Regions from separate parts of the Homo sapiens genome. Here regions 2, 3 and 4 are each linked to region 1. Evidence: promoter capture Hi-C in 16 types of primary human blood cells and fetal thymus (Javierre and others, 2016). All regions are on one chromosome and are shown on one strand. The core of a region is centred on a gene start or on the middle of the fragment in contact, and the rest is flanking DNA. Distances in the headings are between cores, read along the strand shown. Region 1 holds the start of FST (follistatin). Region 2 overlaps ARL15 (ARF like GTPase 15). Region 3 overlaps ARL15 (ARF like GTPase 15). Region 4 overlaps ARL15 (ARF like GTPase 15).

The links. The method cuts DNA at HindIII sites, captures the fragments that hold promoters and counts their contacts. A CHiCAGO score of 5 or more calls a contact.
Region 2: a contact is called between a fragment that was not itself captured here and the fragment with the promoter of FST in region 1, in 2 of 17 cell types (megakaryocytes and M2 macrophages). The highest score is 6.1, in megakaryocytes.
Region 3: a contact is called between a fragment that was not itself captured here and the fragment with the promoter of FST in region 1, in 1 of 17 cell types (M2 macrophages). The highest score is 5.9, in M2 macrophages.
Region 4: a fragment that was not itself captured here is called in contact with the fragment with the promoter of FST in region 1 in 6 of 17 cell types (megakaryocytes, M1 macrophages, M2 macrophages and 3 more); the score reaches 16.0 in megakaryocytes.

The regions. Positions count from the first base shown.
Region 1 is chr5:53,478,157-53,483,813 of GRCh38, forward strand. It overlaps FST (follistatin), which reads left to right and starts at 2,473. Exons shown (of 6, transcript NM_013409.3): 1 at 2,473-2,720; 2 at 4,724-4,915; 3 at 5,348-5,566. The coding sequence starts at 2,636. RefSeq lists an enhancer at 3,706-3,775. The HindIII fragment of the contact is 5,217 bases long and covers 1-3,478 here.
Region 2 is chr5:54,070,770-54,076,426 of GRCh38, forward strand. The region is part of intron 4 of ARL15 (ARF like GTPase 15); the gene reads right to left. Among named protein-coding and RNA genes, the nearest start is that of MIR581, 120 kb to the left of the region's middle. The HindIII fragment of the contact is 865 bases long and covers 3,139-4,003 here.
Region 3 is chr5:54,051,033-54,056,689 of GRCh38, forward strand. The region is part of intron 4 of ARL15 (ARF like GTPase 15); the gene reads right to left. Among named protein-coding and RNA genes, the nearest start is that of MIR581, 100 kb to the left of the region's middle. The HindIII fragment of the contact is 4,822 bases long and covers 69-4,890 here.
Region 4 is chr5:53,994,388-54,000,044 of GRCh38, forward strand. The region is part of intron 4 of ARL15 (ARF like GTPase 15); the gene reads right to left. Among named protein-coding and RNA genes, the nearest start is that of MIR581, 46 kb to the left of the region's middle. The HindIII fragment of the contact is 2,369 bases long and covers 1,545-3,913 here.

The DNA of each region.
Region 1 (5,657 bases), core at 1,223-3,722:
TACCATCTGAGATCTTTTATGCATTTGGAATGTTTATTTTTCAACCTTGGATATACGGTTTGATACCTCTACCTTAAAAAGAAGCTGTGTCTCTTGCTGCCATTAAAAGACAGGGTAGGGGGAAAAGTCAAGTAACAATACTTGTTAGCTTCTCTTTCCTTTAACTTATCCCTGGGCAGGGGTGGGGGAACCTTTAAGCAGAGAAAACAAACTTTCCCTCCAGCACATCATTGTATAAGGACTATACCATTTCTCTGAATAAAGAAGAAATAAATTCAGCTTTGGAACTCTGCCATTGAGTGGCGGCTCCTGCAAAGGGGACAGTTTGCTATTAATTGTTAATGTCGTCTGCCATTAGAGGGCACTAAACAACTCTACATTAATGAGTTGGAGGGAAGAGAGAAAAGGAGACTGGAAAAGAAAGAGAGGGAGAAAAGGGAGGGAGAGTACGGGTAGAGTCTGGGTAGAGGGAGGGAAGGAGAGAAGAGGGGAAGGAGTAGGGGAAAGAGAGCAGAGGGAATGAGTTGGAGGACTGGAGGGAAAGGGAGAAGGGGAGAGAGACAGCGAGACAGAAACAGACAGAATGATTCTGGAAAGATTAAGAAGGATGTGGAGCCCCCACAGCCGTCTGAAGTGAGCAAAATCCAGTCTCCCCCGGGCCGCCCGAGCCCCTCCCCTCCCGTCCTCATGACGGTAATTATAAAGCGAAAAGCGGCGGCGAGGTCACCCGCTTTTACCAGCCTGCTGCACCGAATGCGCGCGGTGCAGGTGCGGCGGCCGCGGGGCTTTGTGATTCATGCCCACTTTCAAAGGGGGGCTTGGGCCCGTCTGAGAGGCACCCAAACAACTGTCTTCTAATATTAGCACGGCTGTATTTCGGGATCTATTATAGTCTGTCCAGACAGATCCCATTGTAATGGGATCTTTTATTAAAAGATTAGCACTATCTCCTGCAGTTGGTGGAAAAAAATCTGTTATCACTGAGTTATTTGCAGTTGTGGAGGGGGGAAGGTTGACGGAAGATGGGGGGTGGGAGGGCTAGAGGAGGACTGGGGGAGGGTCTGGCGGGGGGAGGGCAGTTGCAGGGGGGGAAGAAGGGCAGATTTGAAATTCGTAGAACAAATCCCAGTGACCTGCGAATGTCCAAGAATTTTGTCTGCATACTTCGCTATCTGTTGTCCTTCGGGCTTCAGATGCGAAAAGAACAAATTTAAAAGGCAGCTTTGGAATAAACAATATAGCATTTTCCGTGAAGTAATCGTTTTATATAAAAGGAAATATCGCCTCCTCAGTTTCATTCAGCGGTGCCAAAAATGTTATAAATGAGAGACCCGCCAACTTTCAGCGAAGAATGCCAGGCACTGTACTTAATAAACTGAGGCTACAGAAGTTCATTATGGATGTTGCAATCTTTTTTATTCCGCGAAAAGAGAGAAGACGAGACAGAAAGAGAGAGAGATTGGAGCCGAGGAGACTGAGAGACAGACAGAGGCACACAGGACAGAAACTGGGGAGTCTCCAGGCGGGAGAGGAAGGGGGGGCCAGACCGCCTACGTCGGCGCCCCCGCTCCGGGCTCCGACTCCAGACGCCGCGAAGTGAAAGGGGAGAAAAGAAAGGGAGAGGGCGAGGCTGTGCCGCGGGGAGACCGGGCCTGAGGTGTTAAACATTTTTGTTTGCTTCCGACTAGTCCAGACGAAGGGCCGCGTCTCGGTAGCGCTCTGCCAGGGTGGAAGGTGCCGGGGCCGGGGTTCCTAGCAACACCTCTGGGCTGGGGGTGGCTGCAAAGTCAGGCACTCACAGACCCAGACACAAAACCTCGCGGGTCCCGCGCCCAGGCTGCGGGTGCCCGGAACCGCCGCGAGGCCGGCGCGCTCCGACCCGACCCGGGGCGGGATATTTGGGCAGCCCGGGGCTCTTCGGCCGTTTGCAAAAGTCTCTTTGGAGCGGAGGAGAGGCAGCACGGAGACAAACTCCCGGGTTCCCCCCGCCACCGCCTCCAGCGCCCCCACCGCGCCCTCCCTCTCACACTCGCGCGCGCGCGCACACACACTCACACACACACTCACACACACACCCGCCACCCCGGGCGCGCCGGCGCTGCCGGCGAGCGGCGGCGAGCAGGACTTGAAGTGGGTGTTCTTCCCCACTCCCCACCCCCGACGCGTAGCCCCCAACCCCCGCCCCGGTCGCCTTCCCCCTCCCTCTCGCTCCTACGCAAATAAGAACTCGACGATTCCCTTCCAGCCGTTTTGATTTCGGGCACCTCCGAAAGATAATTGGGAAGGGTTTCCAGAAGGTGGGAAATGTCACCTGATTCACACTGAACTTTTGAAAGCTCCCCACCCCCAAGGAGCCGCGCACACCCTCGCTCGCGGCCGCCCTCCCACAGCCCCACACACTGGGAGACCGCCCACCGCAAACCGCGGAGACCCCCGTCTAGATTTAAAGCGCGGCTGCGCCCGGCTTCTGACGTCCATTGAATCGCGCGGGCGGCCGGCGGCGAGCGCGGGGCTGCGCCGGGATCGCTGCGCCCTCCGCCGCTGGCCTCTGCGACGCGCGCCGCTCGCCCGAGCCACCCGCCGCCGCGCCGGCTCCCCGCGCCGCTGCGCTCCTCGCCCCGCGCCTGCCCCCAGGATGGTCCGCGCGAGGCACCAGCCGGGTGGGCTTTGCCTCCTGCTGCTGCTGCTCTGCCAGTTCATGGAGGACCGCAGTGCCCAGGGTAAGCGAGTGGGGATGCGCTGGGGAGGCTTGGCTGAGGACAGGGGGGTCGACTTTTCTGTGGTCTCCACTTGGTCTGTTCTGAGCAACGCTGCTCTCGGAAGATGTTGAACCAACTTGGGGACTCCGGGATGGAGAGGAGTGGGAAAATTGTAGGCAATGACACTTTAGGACTGGGAACTGAGTTTGGAGCTCGGTTATCTTGAAAAAGGAAAGGGAGCGAGCTGGGGTCTTAGTAGTTAGGGTTAAATGCTCCAAGTTCTGGCCATGATAACTTTAGATGTGATCTCCTCTGTTTGGCTCTGAAGAAGGGAACAAGTATCAGTAGTAGCCTGGAGATTTCAGTCGACCCATTTGCAGTCTCATCTCTCTCCCTCCCACATCTTTTGGATACTTAAAAAAAAAAAAGGAAAGAAAGAAAAGAAAACCTGGGGGTTTGGGGGAGAGATACTGAATTTTATTTGGTGGCTGGGGGACGTGGTTTCAGAAACTTTGCCCAAACTTGGAAATGTGGGTGCTGAAGATTTTCAAGGGAAGTAGCTTTCTGCCTAGTGGATGCTTCTTCCAACCCCATCCCCCATTCTCGCAAAAAAAAAAAAAAAAAAAAAAAAGCCAAATTATTACCCCAAAGTGCTTTGAGCACTTTACAGTTTTTTTCCCCTCTGCCTCATTCTTCTTTCTGACCCTTAGCTTTCTGTAAAACAGTGAGCAGCCCATAACTGACTTAAATTCTGAAATGGGTTAAGAGCAAATTTCTGAAGCTTGCCTTTTAAAAATAGATTTGTTTATTTCAATTAGTCTTTGGGCAGAATGTTTAAAATAATAATAGCAGCTTGCGATCCAATGATTGTTAAAGTCATATTGGTGATTCATGAGAAGTCTTCTCGACCCAAATCCGAACATTAAAAAGGGGGAAGAGGGAGAAATCACTTGCAAATATTTCTTGCTAGGTATGAGATAGGTACTTATAACCGTGAAATGGTAGGAAGACTCCCCCCTCCCCCCACCTTAAGGCATTACTTTCCCTGCTTCAGCGTTAACATTTTAAGTATGTTGTAAACTGCCCTCCTGGGCACTGCCCCTCGCCGTCTGCATGGCACTGCGCTGGGTTGCCCGCCTTTAGAGGAGAGGCTCTGCCTGGTGCCCGGACGTGGGCGCGGAGGAAAGCAGCCCTCGGAGATTTCGAAAGATCGCGGTGGCCGCGGGCGTGCTCCGGTCTGGCGGATTGCAAAACGGGCCCGTCGGGCTGGCTGCGCCTGGAGGCCGCGCGGGGTAGCTCCGGGCTGGGCCGGGTTGCTTTTTTGCTTTCATTTTTCAGAAGTGCCTTTTGCTTGATCTGTTTCTCTCTCTCTCTCTTTCTTTTCTTTCTTCCTCTCTCTCTTTCTTTCTTCCTTTTTTTCTTTCTTTCTCTTTCTTTTCTTTCTTTCTCTTCTTTCTTTTCTTTCTTTCTTTCTCTTTCCTTCTCCCTCTCTCTCCCCTCCATCTCTCCTCTCTCCTCTCTCTCGTTCTCTTACTTTCTTAACCCCTGTCACAAATAATTCCTGTACCCGCCTACATGAAACCAGCATGTAAAAACATCCGTCGCATCCTGTTTTTGTCAGGTTCTTTAATCTGCTCTTCGAGTCTCTGCAGGTTATGAAATGGGACGAATAAAAGTAAACAGTCTAGTAAAAGTCAATGCAAGCTGCACGTGTTGTGTCTGGGTCACTGGTAACTGACATTGATATGGCTGGGGCGCCCTGTCTTCTCCCTCTCTCCCTCCCTCCCTCTCGCCCACCTCCCATCTCTGTGATCAGGGCTTCCCCCTCCACTGCCTTCTTTTTCCACCCCTCCACCCCTTTCGATTTATTTCCTACTTTTCTCCCGCGTCTCTCTCACTTCCCCTCCTCCACGCTCACCCCCTCCCCATCCCCGCCGGGTCTCCTTCGCTAGCCACCTCGCTCTCCCTGCCCTGCCACCGCTCACTGCTCACTCACCCACCTCCCCACCCTTGTCTCTTCACAGCTGGGAACTGCTGGCTCCGTCAAGCGAAGAACGGCCGCTGCCAGGTCCTGTACAAGACCGAACTGAGCAAGGAGGAGTGCTGCAGCACCGGCCGGCTGAGCACCTCGTGGACCGAGGAGGACGTGAATGACAACACACTCTTCAAGTGGATGATTTTCAACGGGGGCGCCCCCAACTGCATCCCCTGTAAAGGTAGGACTCCTTCTTCCCAACTTGCAGGCCCTCAGTAGAGGGCGTCTTACCCTTAGCTTCCCCACTACCTGACTGGGGTTTGGGAGTAGGAGAGCTTTGTTCCTGGGCTTCCCCTTCCTGTCCCTTGCCCTGGTAAGCCGTGCAGACTCTAATTCTGCCTGTTACAGGCTGTAGGGAATACACGCCAGACTTCTTAGCCAAGTGTGGTGGTGAAACCCACCAACCTGTGCTCCTTAATGAGAGAGATCTGGGTGTGGGGCACAGCCCAAGGTCCACACTCTTTCACCAACTCCCAATATTCCAGGAGAGAGCCTGGGGCCCCTCCAGCGCAAACTCAGGGCTGCATGATTGCGCAAGGCACCCGAAGCCCTCCTGGCTGACCTGCAGACTGCCTGGCTCTGGTTTTAATCCATGCCTGTTTCTAACTCACAGAAACGTGTGAGAACGTGGACTGTGGACCTGGGAAAAAATGCCGAATGAACAAGAAGAACAAACCCCGCTGCGTCTGCGCCCCGGATTGTTCCAACATCACCTGGAAGGGTCCAGTCTGCGGGCTGGATGGGAAAACCTACCGCAATGAATGTGCACTCCTAAAGGCAAGATGTAAAGAGCAGCCAGAACTGGAAGTCCAGTACCAAGGCAGATGTAAAAGTAGGTCCTACCCTGTTGAGCAAGACTGGATCTGTCCCCTCCTCCAGCTTTGTACCTAAAGTAGACCCTCTAGAAGACCCTTGGGGGATGG
Region 2 (5,657 bases), core at 2,321-4,820, 590 kb after region 1:
AGGAGGTGGAGGTTGCAGTGAGCCTAGATCACAGAGCCACTGCAATCTAGCTTGGGTGACAGATTGAGACTTTGTCTCAAAGGAAAAAAAAAGAAAAAGAAATACATTTCTTTTCTTGGCCAGGTGCAATGGCTCATGTCTGTAATCCCAGCGCTTTGGGAGGCCAAAGAGGGAGGATCTCCTGAGCTCAGGAATTCGAGACCAGCCTGGGCAACATGGTGAAATTCTGTCTCTATGAAAAAACACAAAAATTAGCCAGGGGTGGTGGCACATGCCTGCAGTCCCTGCTACTTGGGAGGCTGAGGTGCAAGGATCTCTTGAGGCAGGGAGGTCAGGGCTGCAGTGAGCCATGTTCGTGCCGCTGCACTCTAGCCTAGATGACAACGTGAGACCCTGTCTCAAAAAAAAAAAAAGAAATACATTTCTTTTGTTTATAAATTACCCAGTCTCAGGTATTCAATTATAGCAACAGCAAGTGGACTAAGTATGATTATGTGTGCATGTCTGCTTAAAATGGTATCTTTAGATATACCAATAAATAAATGTTTTTAATTAGAAAAAATGATGAGAAGCCTGAAAATATACACATTGAACATCTCAAATTTCAAAGGAGAAGAGCAAATCACTCCCATAAGATTTCAAAGTGACAGGTAATCACAGGCAAGATAAATAACAGTTACAGTTCAGTCTAAATCAGATTTTTTTTTCAAGTATAGATGCTCTCTCTCTTCCACCGCCTTTCCCCCCCCCCCCCCCGCAAAGCCAGACCCAACCTCTGCATTCAAGTAGGAAACCTGGAAGTCTCAAAGGAATTTTTGGTACACTATTGTTCAGAAGCACTTTTTGGTACATTAATGTTCAGAACCTCCTACTGAACTGTGTCAGGGAAAGTGGAAGCTGATTAGAAAATAAGAGCTACCGGCCAGGCGCGGTGGCTCACGCCTGTAATCCCAGCACTTTGGGAGGCTGAGGTGGGCAGATTACGAGGTCAGGAGATCGAGACCATCCTGGCTAACACGGTGAAACCCCGTCTCTACTAAAAGATACAAAAAAATTAGCCAGGCATGGTGCTGGGCGCCTGTAGTCCCAGCTACTCGGAAGGCTGAGGCAGAAGAATTGCTTGAACCTGGGAGGTGGAGGTTGCAGTGAGCCAAGATTGCACCACTGCACGCCAGCCTGGTGACAGAGCGAGACTCCGTCTCAAAAAAAGAAAAAAAAAAAAAAAAGAAAAAAAAAGAAAATAAGAGCTACACATTGACTATAATAATAATAATGAAATAGACATCCCACACCCACAAACCTGCCACTGTATCACTCTTATTGTTTTCAGGACATTTGCACTGACACTGGGCCAATTTTTGTTTTACTATAAGAGGTTTTAGGATATGTCTTTAAAAATCATACTGTGTACAAGACAGGTTGGTTACTATCAGCCACGATCACTAACAAAACAGTTCCCCATCATCAGTCCTACCATCTGTACTCCCAGTTCTCTCCACACACGGGCTTGGTTGAACAGATTTTGAACTGGCCAAGGTCACTGCACAGCTAGCCTCCACAGATGGGGACAGTGTGAAAAACCTAATTGCAGCTGTGGATAAACACAAACAAGGACACACATGGTTGGCAATACCCCTGTCTAGACTTGATGGTGGCTCAGTGTCACTAAGCACAAAAAACAAGGACATAGTTTCAAGGTAACTATCTCTCAGCGCTGGTACAAATGCTATCATCATGTGGTCTAAATGTCTCCGAGATATTTAAGTATCAATTTAAGAAATGGTAATAGACAAGCAATATTTCCTATCATACATACATTCTCTCAAATTCTCTAGGGAAAAAAATGCCTTTCTTAAACAAAAAGATAAAGCTTGGGAATCAGCACAGTGCCATACCCCATGTGAATGTCACAAGCATTGCCTGCACACAACACAGAAGATACTGCATTAGGGAAAAAATGAAATATCCTCTTTCCACATATTTATTTCATATGTATCAAAATTTCCTTTTCCCACTCCCTTTCCAAAACAAATTACTTGGTTAGAGACTTTACTTTGTTTTTGTTTCAACAAAATTTAATTGGGTACACCTTCTATTCTATACCCCTAAGACACTCATCAAAATAGAATCACGCTGAAGATGGTATCCTAGATTTTCCCCCTTGAAATACATATGGCCCTCAGGGAATGTGGATTGTCAATGTCTTTTCTAGACACTCAACATGTCTGGTCACTCAGGTTTAAAGCCAAATTGGTTATGCATTACTTTTTGAGAAGTTGTTAAAACTTAAAATAAGTTATCAAGTCAGTGATATTTCAAAAGATTGTTGATAAAAAAGAACATATAACTGTAACCATACTGAACAGTTGATTATAGAACGACATGTCAGTGCACATATGGCAGTCGGATAAATTATGCACATCTGGATTACTTTTGGCAAGAAACATAGCTAAGTGTCTAAAGCCAAGTTTAGCAATCTGTCACTAACAATATGTACATTTATTTTAAAATGTCAAGGGCTCAAAGTCATATTTTCTATTTCTTCATAAACTTTCCAGCTCTTCGTAAGACAGCAAACAGGTGACAAAACACATTGCCCAAACTGCCAAAGGCTGTATAAATAAGGGGTAATTTTGAACTTCTCACCACATATATAAGAGGACTCAAAGTCTGAAACAAACTCATGTGTTGTGGGATGTACTGACATATAGGTTTCAAGTGAGATTGTTACCATTTCACTTCAGAAGTTGGTTAGAAAATGCTTTCATTTAAAGATATGGCTGGCTTACATGGAGTAGTAAACAATATAACACTCTGGGGAAAGCAAATGGAAATAGTCTAGTGGTGTCTCCTTATAAAAGGAAAAGACCAGTGTCTCTGTGATCAGCTCAGATTAAGTTTCCTTTTTTCCATTGCCAATTACTGACATCATTTAAGCCCCAAAGAAATGTTTTCCTACTTCTAGTCCCCTTGATTAAAAGAAAAGCCAAGAGACACGAAGGTGGCTCTCAAACTAGCAGTAACAAGAAACTTTACAATGGGATGTATGGGCAGCAGCCAGGTGGGAATGTAGCAGTACCTGTAAGCACAAAACTCCTCTTGACTATTATGCTGCTTCCTAGTTTTTCTAGCATTCCAAGCTTCTTAACAGCTTCAGTGGGAATGCCAAGATATGTCATGGAGACTGGGTGGGGTCCCGTCATTCCAGGTGTTGCCTTCCAGTCTCATTTGTGCTGGCAGCAGAGAAAAACCAGAGTGGAACTATTTTATTTACAGAGTGATAGCTGAATATTCACTCTGTGTCAGTCTTTCTTCTAGCTCACCCATTTGGTAATTTTACTGTTGACTAGCATCTTTACTATATACCAGATCTGGATTATAACATGTTCAAATGGTGTGGGTGGTGGGAAATCCTGTGTCTCTAAATCATACAGATTGGTATTCAAACACCAGGTCCACTGCTTACAAACTGAGCCTCATCTAAAGAAGGAGGATGATTATGAAGCACCTACTTCACAGTGTGGCTGTGAGAACTAAATGCCTAAAACCTACAATACATCCAAAAATAGTGGCTATAATCATTTCTGTTCCTTTTCTCCTTCTTAAAGTGACAGACTGGGACTAATAAAGTCCACAAACCACAGATTGTCAATAAAATGTTGTAAATCCAAGAGTAAGCTAATAAACAACTGAGAAGAAGGAAGAAGAATAAAGAAGATAAGATCCTAAGAGGAAAAGATATTTAACTTTTAATTTTTATCTGCTTTTCTGCTTTTGTAAAGTTTGATGCATAAAGCTATTGAAATCTATGTGAGCTTAAGTGTCTTTCCCTGATGAAATAAATAAAAGACAATTGCCTGTGTTATTAAGAAAAGGCACATGTTTTCAGAACTGTCAGTTTCTATTATTCAAGTCAGAGAGATTTTACTTTAATAGTATTAGAGGCAGAGTGAAAAATACATCTATTTCCTTCTTAATTTTGATATTTTCTATTTGACTCTGAAGCTTAATTTTTAAGTTATATCACATTAAAAATGCTCAAATAAAAGACACATATAAGAAGGTAAAAGAGTAAAAAGAATTTTAAATTAAATGAGTCCATTTGCCCATATTTCACTTCCCCAGGTCTCAGTGGTAGCAATCTTCACACACTATTAATGTTCTTTAGTCTTTTACTCCTTACACTCCTGAGGAATTTTATATCCCCACAAGACACAAAAACTCTAGAAATATAAATTAAGAGAAACACTCACAGAAAAACCCAAAGCAGATCTGACAGAATGATTCTTAGTACAGAATACAGGAAAAAAAAAAAAAAAAAAAGTCCTGGCCTATCATTATACTGTATTACTTTAAATAAGTTAAAGTCTCCTGGCCCAAAGAAGCTATTATAAGATAATTTATAATTTAGATGGTTAAATGAATGTTCATGATCTTTGCCAAGTTCAGGACAATAAATATAGGGGGTTCTTCCAACCCTAGGAATCTGTTATTGTCACTAGACAAACAAGGTAGGCTTGAGAAAACTGATATACTTTCCCCAGGTAGACGTGAAGCTTCTTCATATTGAATTACAGAAGTAAAGTTTTAGTGAATACTACTTTACATAATTTTTCTATCACGGTCATTTAAGATTTTATTCACAAGGCAGCCAAAGGCGAAAAGCAAAAACAGAAGCTAGAACAAAACAGTCTTTGGGTTAATAATATATATTCCTTTTTTTTTTTGAGATAAGGTCTCACTTTGTTCCCCAGGCTGGAGTCAGTGCCACGATCTTGGCTCACTGCAACCTCCACCTCCTCCGCCTCCTGGGTTCAAGTGATTCTCATGCCTCAGCCTTCTGAGTAGCTGGGACCACAGGTGTGCACCACCACACCTGGCTAATTTTTGTATTTTTAGTAGAGATGGGGTTTTGGCATGTTGGCCAGGCTGGTCTCGAACTCCTGGCCTCAGGTAATCTGCCCACCTTGGCTTCCCAAAGTGCTGGGATTACAGGTGTGGGCCACTGCACCCAGTCATATAGTTCATGTGGAGTTTTAAAATTGTAGTAATTTAATCTTGTATTTAAGTTATACCCTTAATAAGTACCATATTAAATGTGGTAAAATGAAGAGTACGGACTAGGTAAGAGGATAAGATCTAGAATTAGAAAGACCTGGATTTATACACTGACTCTGCAGTTTGTCTTTTAACCCATTATACTACCTTATATCTATTCATAATAAATTATGTATCTGAATAAGTGTGTGTGCATGTGTAAATAATACATACACACGCACCACAGAGTTGGTACAACGATTAAATGAGTACCCAGCACAATGCTTGGCAGACACTCAATAGCAAACTAAGAAATCAGGATAATATAGGCCAGGCGCGGTGGCTCACGGCTGTAATCCCAGCGCTTTGGGAGGCCAAGGCGGGTGGATCACGAGGTCAGGAGATCGAGACCATCCTGGCTAATACAGTGAAACCCCATCTCTACTAAAAACATGAAAAAAAAAATTAGCTGTGCATGGTGGCAGGCGCCTGTAGTTCCAGGTATTCGGGAGGCTGAGGCAGGAGAATGGCGTGAACCCAGGAGGCGGAGCTTGCAGTGAGCTGAGATCGCGCCACTGCACTCCAGCCTGGGCGACAGAGCGAGACTCCGTCTCAAGAAA
Region 3 (5,657 bases), core at 1,230-3,729, 570 kb after region 1:
ACCCATGAATGTATCTCAGTGCCTGGCACAGAATAGGCACTTGATAAATATTTGCTTAATGATTAGTAAGCTTTCCATCGTTGGGCTTATGAGAAGCCAACATTTATTGAGCATCTCCTTTGTGGCACATGCGTCAAGTCTCCAGCACTTGCTTGATCTTTAGCTAACACTGTTGTTTTAATGATTTTCTCACAAAGAAACAGATAGGGTAGGTATTAGTCTCATTTTAAGTATGAAGAAACTGAGGTCTTAAGAGTATATAACTTTCTCAAAGTCGCAAGACTAATAAGTACCAAGGCTGGAGTTTGAAGTTAAGTCTGAATTCTTAATCGACCCTCACACTTACAACATGCAGCTGAAACTTTTTCTTCCTGTTCCTTTGCTTTAATAGTTTAACATACTATTTGATACATACAAAAGAATACATGTAACAAATATAAATTGCAGAGCCTAAAAATAAATAGTAAGTATCTTAGTTTTTAAAAGTGAGCAAAAGATAAATGACAAGTCACCAAACAGACAAGTAAGCAAGTAAATGATGCTCAACGTCATCTGACATTAGGGAATTACAAATTTAGACAAAGAATACCACTACACGTTTGCTAAAATAGCTAAAATTCAAAACAGTACCACCAACAACTGTTGGGTGCAAAGCAAATGGAATTCTCATTCATTGATGGTGAGAAAATGGTACAACCACATTGGAAGACAGTTTGGCAGTTTCTTACAAATACGACCCAACAATCACGCTACTAGGTATTTACTCAATTGATTTTAAAACTTACGTTCACACAAAGCCTATATGCAAATGTTTGTAGCAACCTTATGTATAGCTACAAAAAACTAGAAGCAATCAAGATGTCTTCCAATAGAAGAATCGACTACACAAACTGCAGTATAGCTATACAATGGAATATTATTCATTGATAAAAAGAATGAGCTATCAAACCACAAAAAAGATGAATTTTGAATGTATATTGCTAAGTAAAAGAAGCCAGTCTCAAAAAGCTATATAAGGTATGATTCCAATTATATGACATTCTAGAAAAAGCAAAAATATAGCAGTCAAGGTCTGTGGATGCCATGGGTTCAGAGTGGGAGAGACAAATATGTAAAACATAGGGGATTTTTTTTATGGAGGTGAAACTATTATGTATGGTACTCTAAAAGTAGATGTAAGACATTAAGTATTTGCCAAAACCCAAAGAACTTTATAGCACAACGAATAAATCTCAATGTATGCAAATTAAAAAAAATTAACTAGAAAGTCGGGGAAGCCTAGCATGAAATGCAATCTAAATATATTATAAATAATCTAAACATATTACATTGCATACAACAACTTCCCAGAAAAGTATTGGGGTATAAAGTGCAGAACTAAGTAACTCTTGAAGAAAGGGAAGTCTGTAAGACTAAAGGTAAAGGAAACTGTACGTAAGAATTGTCTCCCACAGGGGTATGGATTAATTTTGAAACCATTATATATGTATACTAAAATTAAACAATTGAGTAAATGGATGGTGGATAGCGTGAGCCAGATTTCTCACTGTTTTACTGAGAGATTACAGATAAGCAAGGGTAAAAACGCTAGAATGATCCTTATGGGAATGAATTAGAGCTGAAGACCTCAGTATGAACTCATATTTAGTTTAATATACAGAGGATTACATATAAAAATGTTTTTATATGTATATACATGGGCCAGCACACACACACACACATGCACACGTGCACACACAGAGTTCGCTCTATCAGCTGAGGTCTAGAAGCAATAATACCCCAGTGGCACACAGGGCACGCAGATCTTGGTTTCTGATTCCATTTTCCAATGACCAGGGCTTCTTCAACAAAAGGCTGATCCTGTCTGCGGCAAGAAATACCCAAGATGAGTGTGGAGCCTCTTACAGTGCCAGAGTTAGGAAGTGCCAAAAGAAAAAAAATCACCTAAAACCCCACAACGATGAGGCTATGTCAAAGGGACGTAGGAGCTAATTAAAAGAACATCCTATGCCAAAAATGGAACAATTTAAGCAACAAAATAACAGAGTATTGAATTATAATCCAAAGTATGAACCAGGCTTGATGGCACACACCTGTAATCCTAGCTACTTGGTAGGCTGAGGCAGAAGGATCCCTGGGGCCCGGGAGGATCCCTGGAGACTAGGAGCAATATGGCAAAACTGCATCTCCAAAAACAACAACAACAACAAACAACAACAAAACAAACAAAAAACAAAGTATAAAATAAATATCCATGAGTCTCTACTGACATAAGTAAATAATTGAATAAATCAACAAATAAATGGGGTAGAAGAGATAAACCTACTATGTAGAAAAATTCCAAATAATTCCAAATAATTTGTGTAGGTATTCTATCCAAAAGAAAGTAAAGCATAACTACTCTCTAAGTATGGCTCTCTAAGTATGACCTGTTTCCAAACAGTAGAGTATGAAAAAAGAAAAAAAATAAAAATAAAAAAGAGTGGCTCTAGAGTGGAAAAAGTGGAGAAACCTGACAAACACTACCTCAAGCAGGTGATAAAAGTTTATATCAACAGTGATAAGTCACATTGACAGTGTTTACCCTTGATATGATGTGATGTGGCACTGTACCTCTGGGATCTTCCTTCTAAGTGTAATCATGAGAAAAACATCAGACAAATTCCTATTGAGAGGCGCTCTATAAAATACCTGACCAGTACACCTCAAAACTGTCAAGGTCGTCAAAGACAAGGAAAGTCTAAGAAGCTGTCACAGCTAAGTGGGGCCTAAGGAGATGTGAAAACTAAGTGTAATGTGGTGTCCTGTATGGGATCCTGGAACAGAGAAAAGCATACATAAAAACTAAGGAAATCTGAATACCATATCAACTTTAGTTATAAGCAATGTATCAGTATTGGTTCATTAACTGTAATAAATGTCCCCCTACTCTTAACAGAGGAAAATGGGTATGGGATACACAAAACACTATGTACTATCTTTGTAATAATTCTGTATATCTAAAGTCATTCTAAAATAGAGTTTATTTAATAATAAATAACTAGCTATGAATGTACCACCCAATCAGAAACTAGAATATTATCTGTAACCTACAGCCATCCTCTGTGCTCCATCTCTCCCCTTACTTCCGGTACCTCGCCCCCACCTAAATAAATCACTATCCTGAATGTTGTATTTAATATCTTTCCTCGTTTTAGCACAGTCTTATTACACATGTATGCATATATACCTTTAAAGAGTTTGCTTATTTTTGAGCTTTATAAAAATGGCACTGTACTATCTTCTGAGACTTGCACCAGTGGATTATGTATAAGAAAATTTATTGTGGCACTCTTTCTGAAAGAAAAATCTGGAAACAAAGCAAATGTCCCAAATAAATAAACAGTGGTATAGCTTGCACAATGAAATATTACACAAAAGTGAAAAATATAAACTACATTCAACAATGTGGATGAGCTTTAGAGAAACAATACTAGAGCTGGGCGCTGTGGCTCATGCCTGTAATCCCAGCACTTTGGGAGGCCGAGGCGGGCGGACCACAAGGTCAGGAGATCAAGACCATCCTGGCTAACACGGTGAAACCCCGTCTCTACTAAAAACACAAAAAATTAGCCGGGCGTGGCAGCGTGCGCCTGTAGTCCCAGCTACTTGGGAAGCTGAGGCAGGAGGATGGCGTGAACCCAGAAGGCGGAGCTTGCAGTGAGCCAAGATCGCGCCACTGCACTCCAGCCTGGGTTACAGAGAGAGACTCCGTCTCAAAAAAATAAAAGAATACTAGATGAGAAAAGGTAAAGGTGTTAATCTGAAGCAGAAGGCCCTTTGTCAAATGGCCACAACCTACCTCATCTATCTCACTTCACCGAATCTATTTCCAGTCACACCAAACTTCTCCATGCGACCTAAACATTCCACACTCTTGGACACCCACTTAGCTTTTATTTTTTTAAAAAGGCATGTTGTGATACAATTCACATACCACACAATTTATGCACTTAAAGAACACAGTTCAGTGGCTTTTAGTACATACAGAGTTTTGCGACCATCACCGTAATCAATTTTAGAATATTTTTATCACACTACAAAGAAACATCATACTCATTGGCAGTCAAATCCCATTTCTTGCCAATCCCTACACTCTCCCTGGCCCTAGGCAACCACCAATTTACTTTTTGTGTCTATGGATTTTCCTTTTCTGCACATTTCATCTACAGTAAACGGCATAGTATGACATGTGGCCTTTTGTAAATGACTTTCTTCACTTAGCATAATGTTTCCAAGGTTCATCCATGTTGTAACATGTATTAGTTGCATCATCATTCCTTTTTTTTTTTTTTTTTTTTTTTTTTGAGATAGATTCTTGCTCTGTCGCCCAGGCTGGAGTGCTGTGGCGTGATCTTGGCTCACTGCAACCTCCATCTCCCGGGTTCAAGCGATTCTCCTGCCTCAGCCTCCCAAGTAGCTGGGATTACAGGCATATGTCAACAAGTCCAGCTAATTTTTGTATTTTTAGTAGAGACGAGGTTTCACCATGTTGGCTAGGCTGGTCTCAAACTCCTGAACTCAGGTGATCCACCCGTCTCGGCCTCCCAAAGTGCTGGGATTATAGGCGTGAGCCACTGCACCTGGCCTATCATTCCTTTCTATTGCCAAATAATATGCCATTGTATGATTATACTCACTTGCCTTTGTACATCCAGTTTCTTCTGTCATTGCTCTCTGCTTGTCAAGTTCCTATTTACCCTTCAATGCCCAGATCAGAGATTACTTCCCTAACTCCCATGGCATTCCACTGAAATATTATTACACTTGTCACATTGTATTATAATTATCATGTGTATTTCTCCTCCTCCACCCACTAGTGAACTGTGGGCTCCCCAGACGCGGGGACAAAGCTTTGTGCATCTTTGGGTTCATGGCAGTTACCAGAATTTGACCAACTATATCTACTCAACAAATGTTTATTGAATTATTGAATGAGTAAGTTTTCCCACATTTGTCAATTTTACATTTATTATACAAAAGGAGTATGCATACTGTAGAAAGTGTGTGCAACAATGCAGGGTTACTATGGTCTCAAATCTGGGTTCACATACGAGTTCTGCTTTTGATAACTCAATGGTCTTGGGCAAGTTGCTTAATCAGTCTAAGTTCCATCTGAAACATGGGGATAATATCACACTCATATGGTTACTGAATTTAATAAGTTATGTTTTTAAAGAGTTTAACCCAATAGTGGTAGCCATTATTATGACCAATAATAAAAGCCACTAACAGAAGGGTCGGGGAAGGGGCGGGGACCTTTAAGCAGTCTGATTCAGGCCAGGTGCAGTGGCTCGCACCTGTAATCCCAGCACTTTGGGAGGCTGAGGTGAGCGGATCACCTGAGGTCAGGAGTTCGAAACAGCCTGGCCAACACGGTGAAACCTTGTCTTTACTAAAAATAAAAAATCAGCTGGGCATGCTGGCGTGCCCCTGTAGTCCCAGCTACTCGGGAGGCTGAGGCAGGAGAATTGCTTGAACCCAAGAGGCAGAGGCTGCAGTGAGCCAACATTGCGCCACTGCACTCCAGCCTGGGTAACAGAGTAAAACTGTCTAAAAAAAAAAAAAAAAAAGTCTGATTCAAATTCTTCATTTTACAAATAAAGAAACTGACACCT
Region 4 (5,657 bases), core at 1,479-3,978, 520 kb after region 1:
AGGGACAGACCACCCAAATGTATTATTATATAAAGATGTCAGTTACATAATTACATGAGAAAACAACACATTTTACTTTTTTGTTTTTTAACAACAATTATCCTCTCTGGGGAAGAGAGGCTGAATTAGCTGCTTAGCAAAGTGGCTCCTAGGGGCTCCAATTAACTTAGACACATTTAAACTGGATCCTTGATAATGTACATTTAACATGAGGAAAATGAAATTGTATTTTCTTCCTCCCAATCCCTAACTCCTGCCATGTCTGAACTGACTTTGCTGAGACCACCAACAGTGAAGATGCATTTAAAAACTGCAACTCACATCTAAATGTAGGCCATATACCAGCTGCCTTGTTTTAAAATTTTTTTTAAATTATTTTGAAAGTCCTATGCCATTAATATTAATATTAGAGCCATTTAAATGAAAACACACAAACCTCAAATCAACACTTATTTTTCTTTCTTTTTATATGGACAGGGGTCTCACTATGTTGCTGAGGCTGGTCTCAAACTCCTGTCTTCAAGCAATCCTCCCACCTCAGTCTCCCAAAGTACTGGAATTACAGGCATAAGCCACCGTACCTGGTCTAAACATCTACTTTTCTTAATGGGTGCCAAGACATTCTTTAAAAGTAACTGGGAGGCTGGGCGCGGTGGCTCATGCCTGTAATCCCAGCACTTTGGGAGGCCGAGGCAGGCAGATCACGAGGTCAGGAATTCAAGACCAGCCTGGCCAAGATGGTGAAACCCCATCTCTACTAAAAATACAAAAATTAGCTGGGCATGGTGGTGGGTGACTGTAATCCCAGCTACTCAGGAGGCTGAGGCAGAGAATTGCTTGAACCCGGGAAGTGGAGGTTGCTCCGAGCCGAGATTGTGCCACTGCACACCTGGGAGACAGAGCGAGACTCCGTCACAAAAAAAAAAAAAAAAAAAAAAAAGCAATTGGGGATTTTTTTAAATGATGTGAGTGTGCAGTTGCATTTAATTCAAATAATATTTTATAAACATTTGTCTACATTAGGGGTGTGCAATAAATGATTTTAAAAATGACTATACTGCTTATGTATAAAACAGAAATATGTTTTAAATATTTGATGCCTCACTACTCATAATTCTCAGTATTTTGGCAGACACTTATTGAGTGTCCAATGTCAGAAAACAGTTACACTACTAAGGTCCAAATAAGCAAAATAGCTATAGATTACTCATCTTCAAGAGTAGTTTATCATAGTTTATCAGTAAGAAAATTTGGCAAAGGAAGAGTACATTTTCATTAAAATGCTCAGTGTTTCAATGAGGATGCTCCTGGCATTTAAGATATGATAATTCTCCCTTTTCGGGGGTTGGCCTTGTCCTGGCATTCCTGGCCCCTGCCCACAAAATGCTAGCAGTGACCCCAGTTATAGTGATAATCAGAATATTCCCATACGTTCCCCAAAGTCCCCTAGGCAAAAAAGTACTTTCTCCAGTTGGAAACCACTGACCCAAAGAGTCTCTAGCTTAAAACAGAAACAAAAACAGAATAAGGGTGAAATGTGCTAAAGCTTCATTATGTGGTTTTAAAAAGCAGGGGTGGTTGAGTGTTCCTTAATAACTGTATATAACTTTACTTCCTTGTCTTTCAGTTTATTTGTAAAAGGTTTGTCTCCTGGGGGTTCATACATTATCAATAATTCTCATTGGCTTCTTCAGAGGAGGATGTTCAGGCAGATGTTCAGGAGAATGTTCAGCTAGATGGGTGAGCAAAAAACCCAGTTTTCTTAAACTTTTAGTTAAACTCAGCTCTGCCGCCTAGCTGGGGACAATGGCAAGGGAAATCAGATTGCAGACTAGTGTCTCCTGGGACTAATCTGACATTTATGAGGGGAGCCTCTGGTTGACGAAATGCGAGTACCAGAACAGAGCTGATGCATGTGTGATCATACTCAACATTAGAACACCCCTTCAGGCTGGGTGCAGTGGCTCACACCTGTAATCCCAACACTTTGGGAGACTGAGGCGGGTAGATCATCTGAGGTCTGGAGTTCAAGACCAGCTTTGCCAGCATGGCAAAACTCCGTCTCCACTAAAAATACAAAAATTAGCTGGGCACGGTGGTGCACATCTGTAATCCCAGCTACTTGGGAGGCTGAAGCACGAGAATTGCTTGAACCCGGGAGGCGGAGGTTGCAGTGCGCTGAGATCGCACCACTGCACTCCAGCCTGGGTGACAGAGTGAGACTGTCTCATAAAAAAAAAAAAAAAAAAAAAAAGAGAACACCCCTTCAGCTTGTGACAAGCAGCTAACATCTAGGTCTATATGACAAATGTTTTTCTTTTGCTACCTAAAAATAGGTTTCTGAGGCTGGTTAGGTGAAAGTCCCCTAGGTAGGAATGGTATTGTCTCTAGTTAGAGACTACTGATCCAAAGAGACCCTAGATAAAAAGAGAATAATGGTAGGCTAACACCTTACACCTGTACCTTACGCCTGAAGGCAGAAGGGAGCAGGAGCACTGGGATGGACACAGGCTCAACATATCTAAAATTATAATCTTCCTATTTTTACAGATGGGAAGAAAGAGTTCAGAGATGTGGGATGACTTGCAGACATTCTGTGCAGTTTAATAAACCTTCCTTCTCCTGTATCGTACAGCAAGATCTCTTTCCAACATTACTACCTCAATAGGGTGAAGAATACATTTCTCATCTACCATTTGACAAATTTATGCTGAAATGCAATTCGTTTGCTGAACCTTGGAAAACAACTCAACAAAGTTCTGTCCTTTACATTATAAATCCAGTTCACAAAAACCTTTCAAACTTTTTTCTCCAAATAATCTGTCTTCTTCTTTATGTCCTGAGCTCAGAAGAGTTCCCTAATCTGAGCTCCTCAACTCTGGGCTCGTCGTTCTTCATTTCTTGATATGTGCCCACTGCTAAGAGTTGTCTTTGTTTATCACTCTAGCCACAGCATTCAAAATCTCCAAGCAGTAGACAGTCTCTCTGCTGCCCTATCAATCTCTTTTCCTGACTATTTCTTAAAAACCAAATTAAGGGTACCTTTTATTTCCTGATGAATAGCAGGCCTTCCCACACCACTTCTTGTTTCACTCTCCCTAAATCCTCATCACCTGATAATTTTCAATAATGATCCAAATGGCAACAGACTACATCATCTCAGCACCATAGCATGAGAGAATGAAAGGGACCTTGGAGGTCATTTGATTAACTGGATAAAAAGTGTTCTCTAAGAAACTTTTCAGATTCTTCAGTGGGCATCCAGGAGCAGGATGAAGGAGGTGAATGGGGAAGGGGGCAGCAAGCAGAATTTATGGTCCTCACCTCCAATTTAGCCAGAACAATTCCACTTTAATCTGTTTCTCTAATTATGCTAAGTACAATTTTATTTTAAAAAGAAAATAAAAAGAGGGACGCTTTGGAAATCTCCACTTAAAAAAAAGAAATGTAAAACCACTAATCTATTTCCCACCATGCTGAGTCCTTTAAAAAGAGCCTGATGTAAACTTTGCAAAAATTTGTGATTAGCAAAGGGTCTTTAAAATGCCTAGTCTCTTAGTAATCATAATCCCTCACCTTAAACACTGGCCTGCACCACCAAGAAAAGAGAAAATGTGATTTACTGATGGATGTGCTGGGAGAGGAAGAAAGAGACTCATGTTTGACTGCTGATTTTCCCATTAGCTAGCTGCTAAGCCACTTAACCTCCTCATGCCTCAGTTTCCTTGCCTGCAGAATGAGAGCTGGGCTCTACTCAGGCATTTTCTAGCTCCAAAATTCTGGGTTCTATGAACCAGATTTTTGTGAGGGGGACTGAGCCCTATTTCTCTCGCTTTTCCCATCTCTTGAATAATGTATCGTTCTTTTCCAAAGGAGAAGTGTCCAGGGACATCAGGAAAAAAAAAAAAAAAAAAGCTTTTATCCAATCTAACACCAGGACTAATGGAATGTTTACAGACAGACTGGCTGGCCTCAGCCCTTTAGTTTCTCCCCTTTTATCTTTCTAATCCTCCTTTCAATGTGTCACCCCTCACATCTCTTTCCTTCCTTCTTAGCTCCGCTCAAATTTAGCATACCTTTAAGTGGCTACTGTATACAAGGCACTGCGGTTCAGCACTTGGGTTATATAAAGATGAATAAGGCACAGCCCTGCACAGAAAGGGACTTCTGTAAGGAGGACAACTCTGGCAGAAACATAAAGGGAAGGTTAGAGATGCAAAAGAATAAAAGTGGAATATTTACATAAGAGATGAGGGCATGAAAAGTCTTTGAGAACTAACTGGGAGGTGGGAGAGAAGCCGTTCAATATTAATTCAGTGAATCAATCAGCTTGTTACTTACTGAGCTGTGTTCCAGGCACTGTACTACATGCAGCAGTTACAAAATGAAAAGGCCTGGTCCCTGCTTATGGTCTAAAAAGGAGAGACAGACATGGGAATTGGGTTTGGTGCCAATGAGAACCAGGGCAACACCAACCAAAAGAGGGATGTCCCAAATAGCAGACATGAGTGGGAGGAGACAGAATAAGTAAACTCCCACTGGAATAAGGAATTTATTTAACATGACGATGCTGAAGGGATGTGGGGGCTAATGGGGCATTGGTGCATTCACATTAAGCACACTCAGAGTAACATTTGGATCTGGAGTCAGAAGACAGAGACATCAACACTGAGATGCTGTCAAGAGTGGGGCCAGGAAGTGGAAGAAATCTCCTAGGTAGAAAGAACAGAGAATAAAGAGAAGGCTGTAGGACCAACATTCGGTAAGTGTCTATACTCAAGGAATAGAGAGGAAAAGAAAACTGAGTGAAGAAGACAGTGAAAGGAAATGTAGGAAAACAAGTAGGCATGTGCAATGCTAAAATAAGCTCAGGAAGAAGGGAACTTCAAACAAAAAGAAATGTTCAAAAATAAGTGGAAGGCCGGGCGTGGTGGCTCATGCCTGTAATCCCAGCACTTTGGGAGGCCGAGGCAGGTGGATCACCTGAGGTCGGCAGTTCAAGACCAGCCTGGCCAACATGGTGAAATCCCGTTCCTGCTAAAAATACAAAAAATTAGCCAGGTATGGTGGTGCGGGCCTGTAATCCCAGCCACTTGGGAGGCTGAGGCACGGAGAATCACTTGAACCCGGGAGGTGGAGGGTGCAGTGAGCCAAGATCGTGCCACTGCACTCCAACTTGTGCAACAAGAGTGAAACTTCATTTCAAAAAAATAAAAATAAAAATAAATAAATAAATACATAAAGGCTGGGTGCGGTGGCTCACACCTGTAATCCCAGCACTTTGGGAGGCCAAGGTGGGCGGATCACCTGAAGTTGGGAGTTCGAGACCAGCCCGACCAACATGGAGAAAACCCCATCTCTACATGGGCGTGGTGGCACATGCCTGTAATCTCAGCTACTCAGGAGGCTGAGGCAGGAGAATCTCCTGAACCGGGAGGTGGAGGTTGCAGTGAGCCAAGATCACGCCATTGCACTCCAGCCTGGGCAATAAAAGTGAAACTCTGTCTCAAAAATAAAATAAAATAAAAATAAAAATAAGGAAAAAAATAAGGGAAAAAAAGGAAGCAGAGAAGGGTGGGGTATAGTAGACAGAAAAAATGTCATAAAATTTAGCAGCTAGTTAATAAAAGGCTTTTGAGACAGCAGTTTCACTCATA